Regions from separate parts of the Homo sapiens genome. Here regions 2 and 3 are each linked to region 1. Evidence: promoter capture Hi-C in 16 types of primary human blood cells and fetal thymus (Javierre and others, 2016). All regions are on one chromosome and are shown on one strand. The core of a region is centred on a gene start or on the middle of the fragment in contact, and the rest is flanking DNA. Distances in the headings are between cores, read along the strand shown. Region 1 overlaps LOC285819 (a long non-coding RNA gene). Region 2 holds the start of H3C2 (H3 clustered histone 2). Region 3 holds the start of H2BC8 (H2B clustered histone 8).

What was found. The method cuts DNA at HindIII sites, captures the fragments that hold promoters and counts their contacts. A CHiCAGO score of 5 or more calls a contact.
Region 2: a contact is called between the fragment with the promoter of H3C2 here and a fragment that was not itself captured in region 1, in 1 of 17 cell types (naive CD4 T cells). The highest score is 5.4, in naive CD4 T cells.
Region 3: the fragment with the promoter of H2BC8 here is called in contact with a fragment that was not itself captured in region 1 in 1 of 17 cell types (M0 macrophages); the score reaches 5.3 in M0 macrophages.

What each region holds. Positions count from the first base shown.
Region 1 is chr6:26,472,465-26,476,917 of GRCh38, reverse strand. It overlaps LOC285819 (a long non-coding RNA gene), which reads left to right. Exons shown (of 4, transcript NR_038992.1): 3 at 1-766. It also overlaps a transcript of BTN2A1 not described here. Among named protein-coding and RNA genes, the nearest start is that of BTN2A1, 17 kb to the right of the region's middle. RefSeq lists an enhancer at 3,034-3,083. The HindIII fragment of the contact is 1,320 bases long and covers 1,426-2,745 here.
Region 2 is chr6:26,029,707-26,034,159 of GRCh38, reverse strand. H3C2 (H3 clustered histone 2) reads left to right here and starts at 2,061. Exons shown (of 1, transcript NM_003537.4): 1 at 2,061-2,571. The coding sequence starts at 2,100. The coding sequence ends at 2,510. H2AC4 (H2A clustered histone 4) reads left to right here and starts at 542. Exons shown (of 1, transcript NM_003513.3): 1 at 542-1,068. The coding sequence starts at 592. The coding sequence ends at 984. RefSeq lists enhancers at 15-64, 105-164, 468-1,097, 2,035-2,154, 2,195-2,424 and a silencer at 585-684. The HindIII fragment of the contact is 2,287 bases long and covers 1-2,083 here.
Region 3 is chr6:26,214,936-26,219,388 of GRCh38, reverse strand. H2BC8 (H2B clustered histone 8) reads left to right here and starts at 2,701. Exons shown (of 1, transcript NM_003518.4): 1 at 2,701-3,189. The coding sequence starts at 2,746. The coding sequence ends at 3,126. It overlaps H2AC8 (H2A clustered histone 8), which reads right to left and starts at 2,468. Exons shown (of 1, transcript NM_021052.4): 1 at 1,952-2,468. The coding sequence starts at 2,414. The coding sequence ends at 2,022. It also overlaps the pseudogene H3C5P. RefSeq lists enhancers at 1,648-1,757, 1,673-2,324, 2,038-2,457, 2,325-2,976, 2,888-3,237 and 2 more. The HindIII fragment of the contact is 5,797 bases long and covers 2,129-4,453 here.

The DNA.
Region 1 (4,453 bases), core at 836-3,335:
TGATCAATCAGGCACAAGAAAGTGTTCTGCTTCTTTCTGTCACCTTAGAAATAACCTGGACGTCAAACATCGGTGAAAAGAAGAGAAAAAAAGGAAAATGAAATAACCTGGAAGCTCCTGATGATTTGAGATCAGATCTTTACATACTAAGAGATGGTTGCTATATCTGGGGGCCTTGAGTGAAAGGCAGCAGTGGGAGCCCAGCACCCATTTCCAGACAACTCCACAGCCCAGAGCCCAAACTCAGCAGTTATGAGTTGAATTTATTTTGTCAAACAAAAAGAGTCAAACTCTGTAAAATATTGCAAGAGATTTATTCTCAGCCAGATATGAGTGCCCAGTGGCTTGTGACACAGCCCCGAGATCCTGTGAACATGTGCCGAAGTGGTTGGGCTCCAGCTTCTTTTTATACTTTATATTTATTGAGATGTTTTAACTCTGCAGGCCAGAGAGAGAGACCTATCTGAAACCAGCTTGGGCAGCTGGAGAAGAATGAGGGTGAGCAGACATCTGGGCAAGCCGGAGTTTGGGAAAACTGCCATCTTCGACCTTTCTGGAGCAGCAAGATACTGGTGTGAGTCTGTCAGGAGCTTCAGCCTAGCTGATGAATAGACAGGAGAGAGCGATGGGCTCTACAGACCCGCTCAGCAGTTCTTTCCAACTTGGAGTGCTCTGGTCATTTGCATCTGAATCCTGCTGTGTCTTCTCTCCAGTGGAGATTTTCAAACCAGGCTGCCATCAGCACCCACTCACCACCCTAAGTTTGGTAAATGATATATAAAGCTTCAAACTGGCCCTACAACTCAAAAGGAGACATAGGAGAAGGGAGGCGTTCATGGGTTGCATATAAATGAGCACAGTTTGAAATCACTACACTAAAAAAAAATCTTTCAACTATAATAATATGTTATTTACTTTCAGCAATGAGTCAGTCAGGAATTTAGCCCAGGAAATCAACAGAAAAATAGACTCCTCCCTCCCCTGAGATGCTGCCTGCACTGGATTCATGTAAATTTAAATATAAATTTAGATTGATGTTCTTTCACCATCCTCCCCCATTATCCTTCTCTCACTTCAATCATAAATGCTCTTCTGTTTGCATCATAAATTTTTCCCCTCAATCCAGTACATTTTTCTTTTTTCCTTGTATTTATTTTATTTTATTTTAATTTTTTAGAGATGAAGTCTCACTATGTTTCCCAGTCTGATCTTGAACTTTTGGGCTCAAGTGATCCTCCCAACTCAGCCTCTCAAAGTGCTGAAATTACAGGCGTGAGCCACTATGCCCTGCTGATCCTGTACATTTTTTGAGTTCATTGTACCAATAGTTCCTCCATTAGCTTGGTTAAACATTCACAAAACAAAACAAAATGCCCCCAAATGTGACAGCTGAGTCCTTGTAGGAAAAAATCCTTAAGTGAAGCTTAGTATCCTGGGGTTCATTGCATATTCATATATACATACTTGGGGACCCATGCACTAAAAAGACAGACTCCTTTTGTTTACAATAATTCAGCCTTTGCTGTTAAGGTGATTAAGGCAAGTAGGTGTGGGTGGAGAGATAGTGACAAAGGAAGTGAACTAGAGGAATAAAGATCAAAAGATGGGAGGAGGTCACTAGGTCACAGTTAAGCAAGGGCAAGCAGGCAGGAACCAGCCCTGTTGCACTGGTGTACTTGGTCACCTGGGCAGGGTGTTGACGGGCTGTTGTGGGGATGTTGGGGACATCTAGAAAATATGGAGTTGAAAATTTACAATATACATATGAATCTTTAAGGCACATCTCTTTTTAGAACCTTTTGGAATATGTTCCTAAACATAACCAGGAGATATTTTAGGAGTCTTTTCGTCTCCTGGCTGGGGGCAGTGGCTCATGCCTGTAATCACAGCACTTTGGGAGGCCAAGGTGGGTGGATCACTTGAGGTCAGGAGTTCAGTACCAGCCTGGCCGGCCAGCCTGGCCAACATGGTGAAACCCCGTCTCTATTAAAAATACAAAAAATTTGCCAGGTGTGGTGGCGTATGCCTGTATTCCCAGCTACTCCGGAGGCTGAGGCCAGAGAATTGCTTGGCTGGGAAGGTGGATGCTGCAGTGAGCCGAGATTGTGTCACTGCACTCCAGCCTGGGCAACAGTGAGACTCTGACAAAAAAAAAAAAAAGGAGTCTTTGCTCCTTTCTGACTGTAATTAGTTCCTAAGAACATGCAGTTGGAAGGTTTCTCTATTCAGGTTGTCCCTCTTCAGCCAAATCTCAGCCTCTTCAGGTCCTTACTCTTTGCATTCTACCCTCTCCATCCTCACCCCTTTCTCTGTGCCAGTTCCCCTCTCAGCTTTTCAGTCCCTTTTCTTCCAGGCCTTGTAGCCCTGGCTCTAAGCAATTTTCCCCACTTACTCCTTAATATTCCTATCTGAAAATCATAGCCCACAAAAAAAGGTAATCAATAGTTTTCTGTTGTTAATAAAAACTTTAGACAAATTAAATTTAGCAGGGTTTAATTTGAACAAAGAACAATTTGCAAACCATCAGAACGATCGGGCAGCCATCAGAGAGGTTCAGTGAGCTCCATTCCACAAGGGAAGTGACACACAGAAACAGCTTAATTGGTTACAGCTCAGAGTTGGCCTTATTTGAACATAGTCTGATCACTTGGCTGCAGGGTTGACTGCCGCCGACTGAAGTTCGGCTACTGGGATTGGCTGAGACTCAGCTATTTGTTACAAAAGTATACTCCCATGCCTTAAGCTTTCAGTTAGTTTACATACTAAGTTAGGTTGCAGTTCATTATTTAAGGGCTCAAGAGCCATCCCTCAGGCTAAATGTATACATATCTCATACCAAATTTAGTTTAATTTAACACAATTATTTCTGCTTTAGTTAAGATTCTCTGATCCAGAATAAAGGAAAAGAAAGCATGTGCTGTACACTCGGTCCGAGAAACACTAAGAGAATCCTCTTTGTAGGAATTCGTGTTTTGATTGGCTCAGAGGTACCATTTCTCATCAGTTGCTGGGCAGAAGCCACTGGGGACGGTTAGAATGAAAACTGAAACGATATTGAATTGTACACATTGACGAAAAGTTTCAGCCCTACCTCTCAAAGTGTTTGCAGCTCTCTGTGTTTACATATTTGAATCATTAATGTGTGTGTTACGTGTACAATCAGTGTTTCTTCACATTCAGCTGTCTTTTATATCATAACAGAAATATCAGGAGAACTGAGTGGAAAAATGAAAAGATTTTAAGAAGAGAAGATAGGTATTAATTAAAATGATACTGTGGCAGTTTGCAGACATCCCCTTGCATGTAATTGTTACATGGAGGATATTATCATCTTTTGTTTTGGATATTATCATCTTTTACCACAGAGCCAAATGAAAGTATGAACATAATGAAAACTAGATCTATTGCATCTATTTTAGTACCTCCAAAATTCAGGTCTCAGATCCATTACCGAATTATAGAATTTTCTGGTATCCAGAGTTAGTGCTGTCTATAACTGCATATTTTATATTTTTCACAAAATTATTTTGGGTGTGACTGAAGCTTTCTTCACCTCTTGCTCCTTATTTGTGCCATACTGTATTTTCATGTGTATTTGTTTCTCACTCTGACAATGAAATATGTTCTAAGGTTAACCTTTGGGTAGACTGTGGGGGATGTCTTTGTAAGGGGTCCTTGCTACAAACCTTGGGACCTAGTGATAGCAGACAGGAGGCAGTCAGATGCCTAGGCAGGTAGCAATGGGTCCCCAGTGATACCCCACCTCCAAGCTGAAGACAGTTTAAAGCCTGAAAGCCAAACTACAAGGTAAATCCTCAGCCCAAATTGAGAACTTGTTGAGAACTTGTCTTCCTGTTTGGTGCACTTTCCTCTGATTGGTCCCCACCCTTCAACTACTTTCCATATACCCACACTTTCCTAATTGTTTTTTTACACTGTTGTGGCCATCTTTGAGTGGTGTCTTCACTTTAACCTTTTTTGCATACTCACAAACCATTCAGCACACACTTCCCATTCTGAGTCCATAAAACAGGCCTGGACCCAGCCACACAGGGGGAGCTTTCCTGCCTTCAGGTAGGGGTGCCAGCATCCCCTCTCTGCTGAGAGCTGTTCAGTCGCTTGATAAAATTCTTCTCAGCCCTCCTCACCCTTCAACGTCTAGTGTATCCTCATTCTTCTTGGGCATGGTACAAGAGCTCAGGAACTGCTGAACGTGGGTATAAGCTATAACACAGGTGAGCTGGGGCATGCCAGTTTAGCCAAGCGAGGCTTGGGTGGGGTGTTGCTGGCCAGAGGTCCCCTGCTTGCAAAGTGACAAATAAAAATCCTGTATCACTAGCACTTGCAACTTTAGTTGGGTCACAAATAAAATATAAAGGCCTATCATTTGTTTATGTTATAAAACAGACCCTTAAAGTAATTAAAACTCCTAGGACTTAGCTGAAACCTTGGC
Region 2 (4,453 bases), core at 812-3,311, 440 kb after region 1:
CACTACCAAGCCCGGCTTTTTTTTTTCTTTTTCTCCCCCGTTTCTTTTTTGGTTATTTTACTGGAGACAGGGTTTCTCCATGTTGTCCACGCTGGTCTCGAACGCCTGACCCGCCGTCCTCGGCCTCCCAAAGTGCTGGTATTACGGGCATGAGCCACTGCGCCCGATTTGAAGGACCTCTTAAATATCTATTTAGAAATTGGTCGGAGTCCACTCCTTTCCAAAAACATGAGTCACAATCCGGGAAAAGCACGAGCGGCTGAAAGTCAAAATAACCAGAACAAAACCTCCACTCATGCTTAAAAAAGGTATTTTGACAAAATCCTAATTCGGCCAATTATTATTAGTATTCAAGTCGAAGGCTCGTCAAGCCAGACTGGGGATTGGGTCAAACATAAACCTTACACCAGACGGAAGGATTACATGCAAATGAAGGATGCAGATTCTGATTTCCCATTGGGTATTTGACATTAGCCAATGGGAGAATTCCTCACAGCCTACCTCCAGTCAGTATAAATACTTCTCTGCCTTGCGTTCTAATGTAGTTTCATTACATTTTCTTGTGGCGATTTTCCCTTATCAGAAGTAGTTATGTCTGGTCGCGGCAAACAAGGCGGTAAAGCTCGCGCCAAGGCTAAGACTCGGTCTTCTCGTGCAGGTTTGCAGTTTCCTGTGGGCCGAGTGCACCGCCTGCTCCGCAAAGGCAACTACTCCGAGCGCGTCGGGGCTGGCGCGCCGGTGTATCTCGCGGCGGTGCTTGAGTACCTGACCGCCGAGATCCTGGAGCTGGCGGGCAATGCGGCCCGCGACAACAAGAAGACCCGCATCATCCCGCGCCACCTGCAATTGGCCATCCGCAATGACGAGGAGCTTAATAAACTCTTGGGGCGTGTGACCATCGCGCAGGGTGGCGTTTTGCCTAATATTCAGGCGGTGCTGCTGCCTAAGAAAACTGAGAGCCATCATAAGGCCAAGGGAAAGTGAAGAGTTAACGCTTCATGCACTGCTGTTTTTCTGTCAGCAGACAAAATCAGCCTAACAGCAAAGGCTCTTTTCAGAGCCACCTACGACTTCCATTAAATGAGCTGTTGTGCTTTGGATTATGCCGCCCATAAAGATGTTTTTGAGGTGTTTTTAATGGCTTTGAGTGTGGCACTTTTAGTAATTTGTCCTGCAGAAATTAGATCCATAGAAACCTCAGGAATTCTAGGTATGTGGGAGAAGTGCCATGCAGCACAAAACATGTTTACAGGGGTGATTCGCGTTAAGTTTCACACACAGCAGTTACTACATTTTAGAGGAAGGAAATTATACCCATGAGTGCATTCCTAACTATCTTGAATGGAAGTGTTAAAACCCGCATGCCCCACACAAGTTTGAATATGTCATACCATTTGCTGTAGCAATTAATGGCATACACAATTGAGAGCACACACATTACCACTGAACATTTGAGTATGTATTTCCCAAAATGAGCTTTTTTCCAGTTTGGGGATGTTTTGCTTTGTTTTGGGGTGGAGTCTCCCTCTCGCCCAAGCTGCAGTGCAGCGGCGTGATAACAGCTCACTGTAACCTCGAACTCGGGCTCAAGCGATCCTCTTGACAGCCTTCTGAGTAGCTGGGATTACAGGCGAGAGCCGCCACGCCCGGCTAAGAGCATTTTTCTAATTGCCCACACTTCTTATGCGACACCCAGAAAAATACAATTTTAAATAAAGCGCATATGCAAATTTCCCTAATCGTCTCCAATATTCTCTGATTTCTTTTTTATATTTTAACTAGAAACAATTGGAGGTTTCCGCGTTGCTTTGTGTGGTTGTAAATTTTAAGACTTCAGGAAACTTTTCCAGTACAAGACTTGTCCACAGTGGATATAGCAGCTAAGGGGTTAACAAAATGACGTCAGAGTAGCTACGGTAATGGGCAGGAGCCTCTCTTAATCTGCAACCAGGCACAGAGATGGACCAATCCAAGAAGGGCGCGGGGATTTTTGAATTTTCTTGGGTCCAATAGTTGGTGGTCTGACTCTATAAAAGAAGAGTAGCTCTTTCCTTTCCTCCACAGACGTCTCTGCAGGCAAGCTTTTCTGTGGTTTTGCCATGGCTCGTACTAAACAGACAGCTCGGAAATCCACCGGCGGTAAAGCGCCACGCAAGCAGCTGGCTACCAAGGCTGCTCGCAAGAGCGCGCCGGCTACCGGCGGCGTGAAAAAGCCTCACCGTTACCGCCCGGGCACTGTGGCTCTGCGCGAGATCCGCCGCTACCAAAAGTCGACCGAGTTGCTGATTCGGAAGCTGCCGTTCCAGCGCCTGGTGCGAGAAATCGCCCAAGACTTCAAGACCGATCTTCGCTTCCAGAGCTCTGCGGTGATGGCGCTGCAGGAGGCTTGTGAGGCCTACTTGGTAGGGCTCTTTGAGGACACAAACCTTTGCGCCATCCATGCTAAGCGAGTGACTATTATGCCCAAAGACATCCAGCTCGCTCGCCGCATTCGCGGAGAAAGAGCGTAAATGTAAAGTCACTTTTTCATCAGTCTTAAAACCCAAAGGCTCTTTTCAGAGCCACCCACTTATTCCAACGAAAGTAGCTGTGATAATTTTTTGTTGTCTTAACAGAACAAATTTCTAAGGACCCCCCCGGAAAGCATTAGACTATGGTCTTAAAGTTGATTAACAGAAATAACGGTTTGGTCAGTCTTGCAGTGTAGGTTATTTCTGACCTTATTAAGGTGCTATTTGGAGAGAAGCTGTGTAAGTCCACTATCATTCAGGCCTCTAGCTTGCTATGATTAGCATTTGTTTAAACAACTTTGTAAGAGTAAGGGAAAAATCTGGTAAGTAGTTAACTGGCGCTTACTAGGCATTTTTGCAAAGCTTTGAAAAGATTAGAAAATTGTGTCTTGCGAGTTCCAGTGTCTTCCTCAAAATGCTTAGGAAGATTTTCTCAGCTCAATACATAGTCCCCTAGGTTTTCTCATATATTATATATATATATATATATATATATACTGTTAAATTCATTTGGCTGTTAACATTAACCTGAAATTTATTCTGGTGCAAAATGTGAGGCAGGGATCTAACTGGCTCTCATTTTATCCATAGCTAGCTACCCACTTTAAATCTGTCAGTCTGTCGACCAAGCATAATTTAATCCCTTATATATGAATTTTTATATGTGTGGCTTTGCTTGTAAATAGTCTATCTGGTTGCATTGCTTTGTCTCCTCTAGGACTATGCACCATGACATGCCACATTCTTTTTTTCAGTACTTCTTGCCTGTAGTTATTAAAATCTAGAATTTACAAGTTTTAACCATTTTCTTTCTGTTGATCTTGCTTTTCGGTTTTGGAGGTTGGGGATTGAGTACTGGAAGAAAATTTAGAGGGATGGGAATACTGTACGCAAACAAAAGTAATATTTACTTTAAAATTTTTATATTTTGTATTTTTTTATCATATAGCTTTTACATCACATTTTACAGACTAACTTTAGAACAACCACAGAATGTCCAACATTAAAACTACTAATTCCAAAGACCTTGCCTCACATTCTTTTTTACAATAAATATTTTTTACACCTAACATTCTTTCTTGGCCTACATCTAGAATGTAAACTGATGTACCATACTAAAATCGCCTGACCAACTGTCAACAACAACAAATCACACACACAAAAGATTAAATTTGAATTGCATCGTTTACTTAAATTCATTTGTGTTCCAGCTTTTAATAAGGCAGTTTTTGGTTTATAAAGTAATATTTGCATTTTAAAAATTATGAAAATGAATATGTCAGTTTGTTTTATGATTCGTTTTTCTTGACTCTTATACAAGCGACTCTAACTGGCATAGACATTTGTTATCCACAGACAGTATAGATATGTTAGAGATGCCAATGGACTTGGTCTATGCCAAGGTGACTACTCACAAGCTCTGGGCCCAGCTGAAGGTCAAGTATTTTTTTTCCAGTTATAGATGTGCTGGATCTGATGTATAGCGCTTGACTTTTTATATTTTCTTTATCTGTAGGAAACAAATGTGTTGGAGGTACTGGGTCTGACGAATAGCATAAAAGAATAAAGTTACATTACTGTCTGAGGATCAGATGGACAGGGGGTGGTAGCTCAGTCCAGCTATTTTCCACTCCCTCACTTACATTCTTTGCCCCCTCCTCAACAGAACAAGGATTCTGCTGTAACTCTTCATTGACAGTTGATATTTAAAAATTAACGAATGGATGAAATTCTCATTTGTGAAAGAAAATTTATTGAGCATTTTGTATTTGTGAGTAGTGCAAACATTTTAATATTATATTAAGAATCTATTGTTTTGTATTAGAGGAGTAATTAAGGAGAGATTGGAGACAAAAAGGGGGTGTTGTTTGCAGAATATACCATCCAAAAATAGACCACTGTGGGATCAGGATTCTTTTGAGCTAAAGGCACTTCAAAAACAG
Region 3 (4,453 bases), core at 1,452-3,951, 260 kb after region 1:
TATCACCAGAAATTATTTTTGATGCAAATTATTTGTGATGCCAATAACTTCTGTTCAGTGGAACACATATAACTGCAATTATTTAGAACCCTAGGGGCATTAATTTTTTTAATAATCTCATTCAGCAACCTTGTCCTAACATTTAAGAAAGGGCAGCTTTTCCCTTAAGTAGCTCAGTGACTTCTGGTAGCGATGAATTTCAGCATGATTCAGGGCCTATATCTGAGGGACACCTTCAAGCTGCTGGTGGCCAGAGTGCTCTTGCTGGCTGCCTTGGTGGCCAGCTGCTTAGGAGGCTGTCTGCCACCAGTGGACTTCCGTGTGGTTGGCTTGGTGCAGGCCATGACCTTTCATATCAGATTTACAGATCACTTCTCTTTATAGGGCCTGGTGTGTGATCCAATTAGATTTGAGATTTTTTACAGAGAAATGTGACTGGATTTCTACTAAAGTTGAATAATTAATTGTGCTTTACAGTGTAGTCCATTTATAAATTTAGGTCATAAAACTAAGTTTTTGCTGCTGGGTTTTTTTTGTTTTTTTTTTTTTTTCCTTTCCTAAACAGGATCTTGCTTTGCCCCCCATAGCTCGCTGCAGCTTCGAACTCCTGGGCTCAATCAATCCTTCCCCGCGTAATTCTCCCAAGTATCTAAGATCTCAGACTGAGCCACCAGGCCAGGCTTTTTCTTTTCTTTTCTTTTTTTTTTTTGAGACGACGGAGTCTCGCTCTATTGTCCAGGCTGGAGTGCAATGGCATGATCTTGGCTCACTGCAACCCCCGCCTCCCGGGTTCAAGCGATTCTCCTGCCTCAGCCTCCCGAGTAGCTGGGATTTCAGGAGCCCACCGCCATGCCTGGCTAATTTTTTTGTATGTTTAGTAGAAACAGGGTTTTGCCACGTTGGCCAGGCTGGCCTCGAACTCCTGACCTCAAGTGATCCGCCCATCTCGGCCTCCCAAAGTGCTGGGATTATAGGCATGAGCCACCGGGCAGGGCAGGCTTTTTACTTTTTGTGGAGGTGAGGGGGCTGTCTCGCTTTATTGCCCAGGCTGGTCTTGATCTCCTGGGCTCAAGCGATTCTTCTGCCTTAGTCTTTCAAATTGCTGGGATTACAGGTCTGACCTAGGGCGTCAGGCCGTTACTGCTTAGTTTCGTTTAGTGTTTATTTTAGAATACTGTGTTAATTGCTCCTTTTGAAAAGAGAAATCCAACAAACACAATTCTCACTAGAGGAATGTAGTCTTTTTTTTTTTTTTTTTTTTTGAGACGTAGTCTTGCTCTGTTACCCAGGCTGGAGTGCAATAGCGTGATCTCGGCTCACTGCAGCCTCTGCCTCCCGGAGTCAAGCGATTCTCCTGCCTCAGCCTCCCAAGTTGCTGGGACTACAGATGCACACCACCACGCCCGGCTACTTTTTGTATTTGTTTAGTAGAGACGGGCTTTCATTATGTTGGGCAGGCTGATTTCGAACTCCTGACCCTATGATCCGCCCTCCTTGGCCTCCCAAAGTGTTGGGATTACAGGCATGAGCCACTGAGCCCAGCCGGAATGCAGTCATCTTTAAAACTTAAAAAGCCCGCCCTGAAATGCTAATGGGCAGCTATCCTTCTTTGTTCTCTCGTTTCTGTATTAATATTTCACCCTTTTCTGACAAGTGCACATGAATAAACAGCCTGTGTATTAATGATAAATTTGTATACACAGCATGGACCTATACACAAAATAACGCAGTGAAACCTTGGTGTCACAACCTCGGTTTCTATTCTTGTATACCTTTATAAACGCATTTTTACTGCAAAGAAACACCAGTAAGATAAATTAGTGCATGAAATGTGAGCAAGGATTTCAATAAAGAACTGACCAGTAACGTCAGAAGCGTTCGTTAAAAATTAGGACAGTGAACATTGAGATTTCAGGCATCGTATGTGTATTCCAGCACTTTACAGAAAAGGTGGGTGGCTCTGAAAAGAGCCTTTGGTTTCTGGGACTCGGGATCACTGACGGATTTGACTAGTAATCATTTCACTTGCCCTTGGCCTTATGGTGGCTCTCCGTCTTCTTAGGCAGCAATACGGCCTGGATGTTGGGCAGGACACCGCCCTGCGCGATGGTCACGCGACCTAGAAGCTTATTTAGCTCCTCGTCGTTGCGGATGGCTAGCTGCAGGTGGCGCGGGATGATGCGGGTCTTCTTATTGTCGCGAGCCGCGTTGCCAGCTAGCTCTAAGATCTCGGCCGTCAGATATTCCAGCACCGCTGCCAGGTACACTGGAGCGCCGGCCCCGACTCGTTCGGAGTAGTTGCCTTTGCGGAGGAGGCGGTGCACACGGCCAACTGGAAACTGAAGACCGGCCCTGGAAGAACGCGTTTTAGCTTTTGCCCGAGCTTTGCCGCCTTGCTTTCCACGTCCAGACATAGTGGCTTCCTAACAGCAGAAGAACTAACAATCCACTGAATAAAGAAAAAGAATGGGCTCGATGGAGGAATAAGAAGCTAGTTATAGTCATCGGTAGAATTGTGAAAGGCGCAATTTGATTGGTTAAAATTGTTCTTTGACGAGCCAACCAATTAGAAAGGAAATAAGGTGAAGGCTATTTTACATGTATGCGTCACTAACACATTGCCCAATCAGAGCTGGATATTTTGAATTCTTTATTTGCATGAAAGGCCTATAAAAGGAGAGACTCTAGACACGAGCTTTTATTTAAGTGCGTTCATTCTCACTGCTGTTATTGTTTTCTGACAGCATGCCTGAACCAGCTAAGTCAGCTCCTGCTCCGAAGAAGGGTTCCAAGAAGGCTGTGACCAAGGCGCAGAAGAAGGATGGCAAGAAGCGCAAGCGCAGTCGTAAGGAGAGCTACTCCGTGTATGTGTACAAGGTGCTAAAACAGGTTCACCCCGATACTGGCATCTCATCCAAGGCCATGGGCATCATGAATTCCTTCGTTAACGACATCTTCGAACGCATCGCAGGCGAGGCTTCCCGTCTGGCCCACTACAACAAGCGCTCGACCATTACCTCCAGGGAGATCCAGACCGCCGTGCGTCTGCTGCTTCCCGGAGAGCTGGCCAAGCACGCAGTGTCCGAAGGTACCAAGGCTGTCACCAAGTATACAAGCTCCAAGTAAATGTGTGCTTAGGTGCTTTAAAACTCAAAGGCTCTTTTCAGAGCCACTCAAGTCTCACATAAAGAGCTTTAATATTGAATTTCACCGTTTTCTAGGGAATAATTTTTCCGATTTTGTAATCCCAGCACTTTGGGAGGCCGAGGCGTGCGGATCGAGACCAGTTTGGCTAACGTGGTTAAATCTCGTTTCTACTAAAAATACAAATATTAGCCGGGCGTGGGGCAGTCGCGTGTCATCCCAGAGACTCGGGAGGCTGCCGCAGGAGAATCACTTAAACCCAGCAAGCAAAGGTTGCAGTGAAAAGACATGGCGCTTTTGCATTCTAGCCTGGGCGACAAAGGCGAGGCTTCGTCTCAAAAAAAATTGATCAGGAGATACTCCTGTTCTGTGTTGGCAAGATCCTGTAATCCTAGCACTTTGGGAGGTCGATGCATGAGGCTTTCTTCAGCTCAGGAGTTAACAGATTTGCCTGGGCAACATAGAACTCGTCTCTGCAAAAAAATGAAGCTAACCAGGTGTGACGGCTTGCGTCTGTACTATCATTTACTCGGTAGGCTGAGGTGGTAGGATAGCTTAAACTCTCGGGCTAGAGACTGCAGGAACATGTGAATACGCTAGTGCAATTCCAGCCTGGGCAACACTGGAAAGGGTAGGAAGAGTAGTCTTTGGGTCCCTAAAGATCACCTGATAACAAGTTTGACTTTTCTGAGCACTCTTGTGGAGTTTGTTGTGGAGGGAATACCATGGGCATTGGCAATGTAAAGTTGATCTAAAAAATCTCGTTTTCCGCCGTGCGCGGTGGCTCACGCCTCTAATCCCATCACTTTGGGAGGCCGAGACGGGCGGATCACGAGGTCAGGAGGTCGAGACCATCCTGGCTAACACTGTGAAACCCTGTCTCTACTAAAAAAATACAAACAAAATTAGCCGGGCGTGGTGGCACTCACCTGTAGTTTCAGCTACTCTGGAAGCTGAGGCTGGAGAGTCACTTGAACCCGGGAGGCGGAGGTTGCAGTGATCAGAGATCGCGCCACTGCACTCCATCCTGGGCGAAAGAGCTAGATTCCATCTCATAAAAAAAAAAAAAAAAAAAAAAAAAAAAAAATTACAGTTTTGGCTGGCTGGGCGCAGTGGCTCTCGCCTGTAATCCCAGCATTTTGGGAGGCGAGGCTGGTGGATCACTTGAGGTCAGGAGTTCAAAAACAGCCTGACCCACATGGTGAAACCCCGTATCTACTAAAAATAACAAAATTAGCCGGGCGTGGTGGCGCATGCCTATGTTACCCCAGCTACTTCGGAGACTGAGGCAGGAGAAACGCTTGAAACC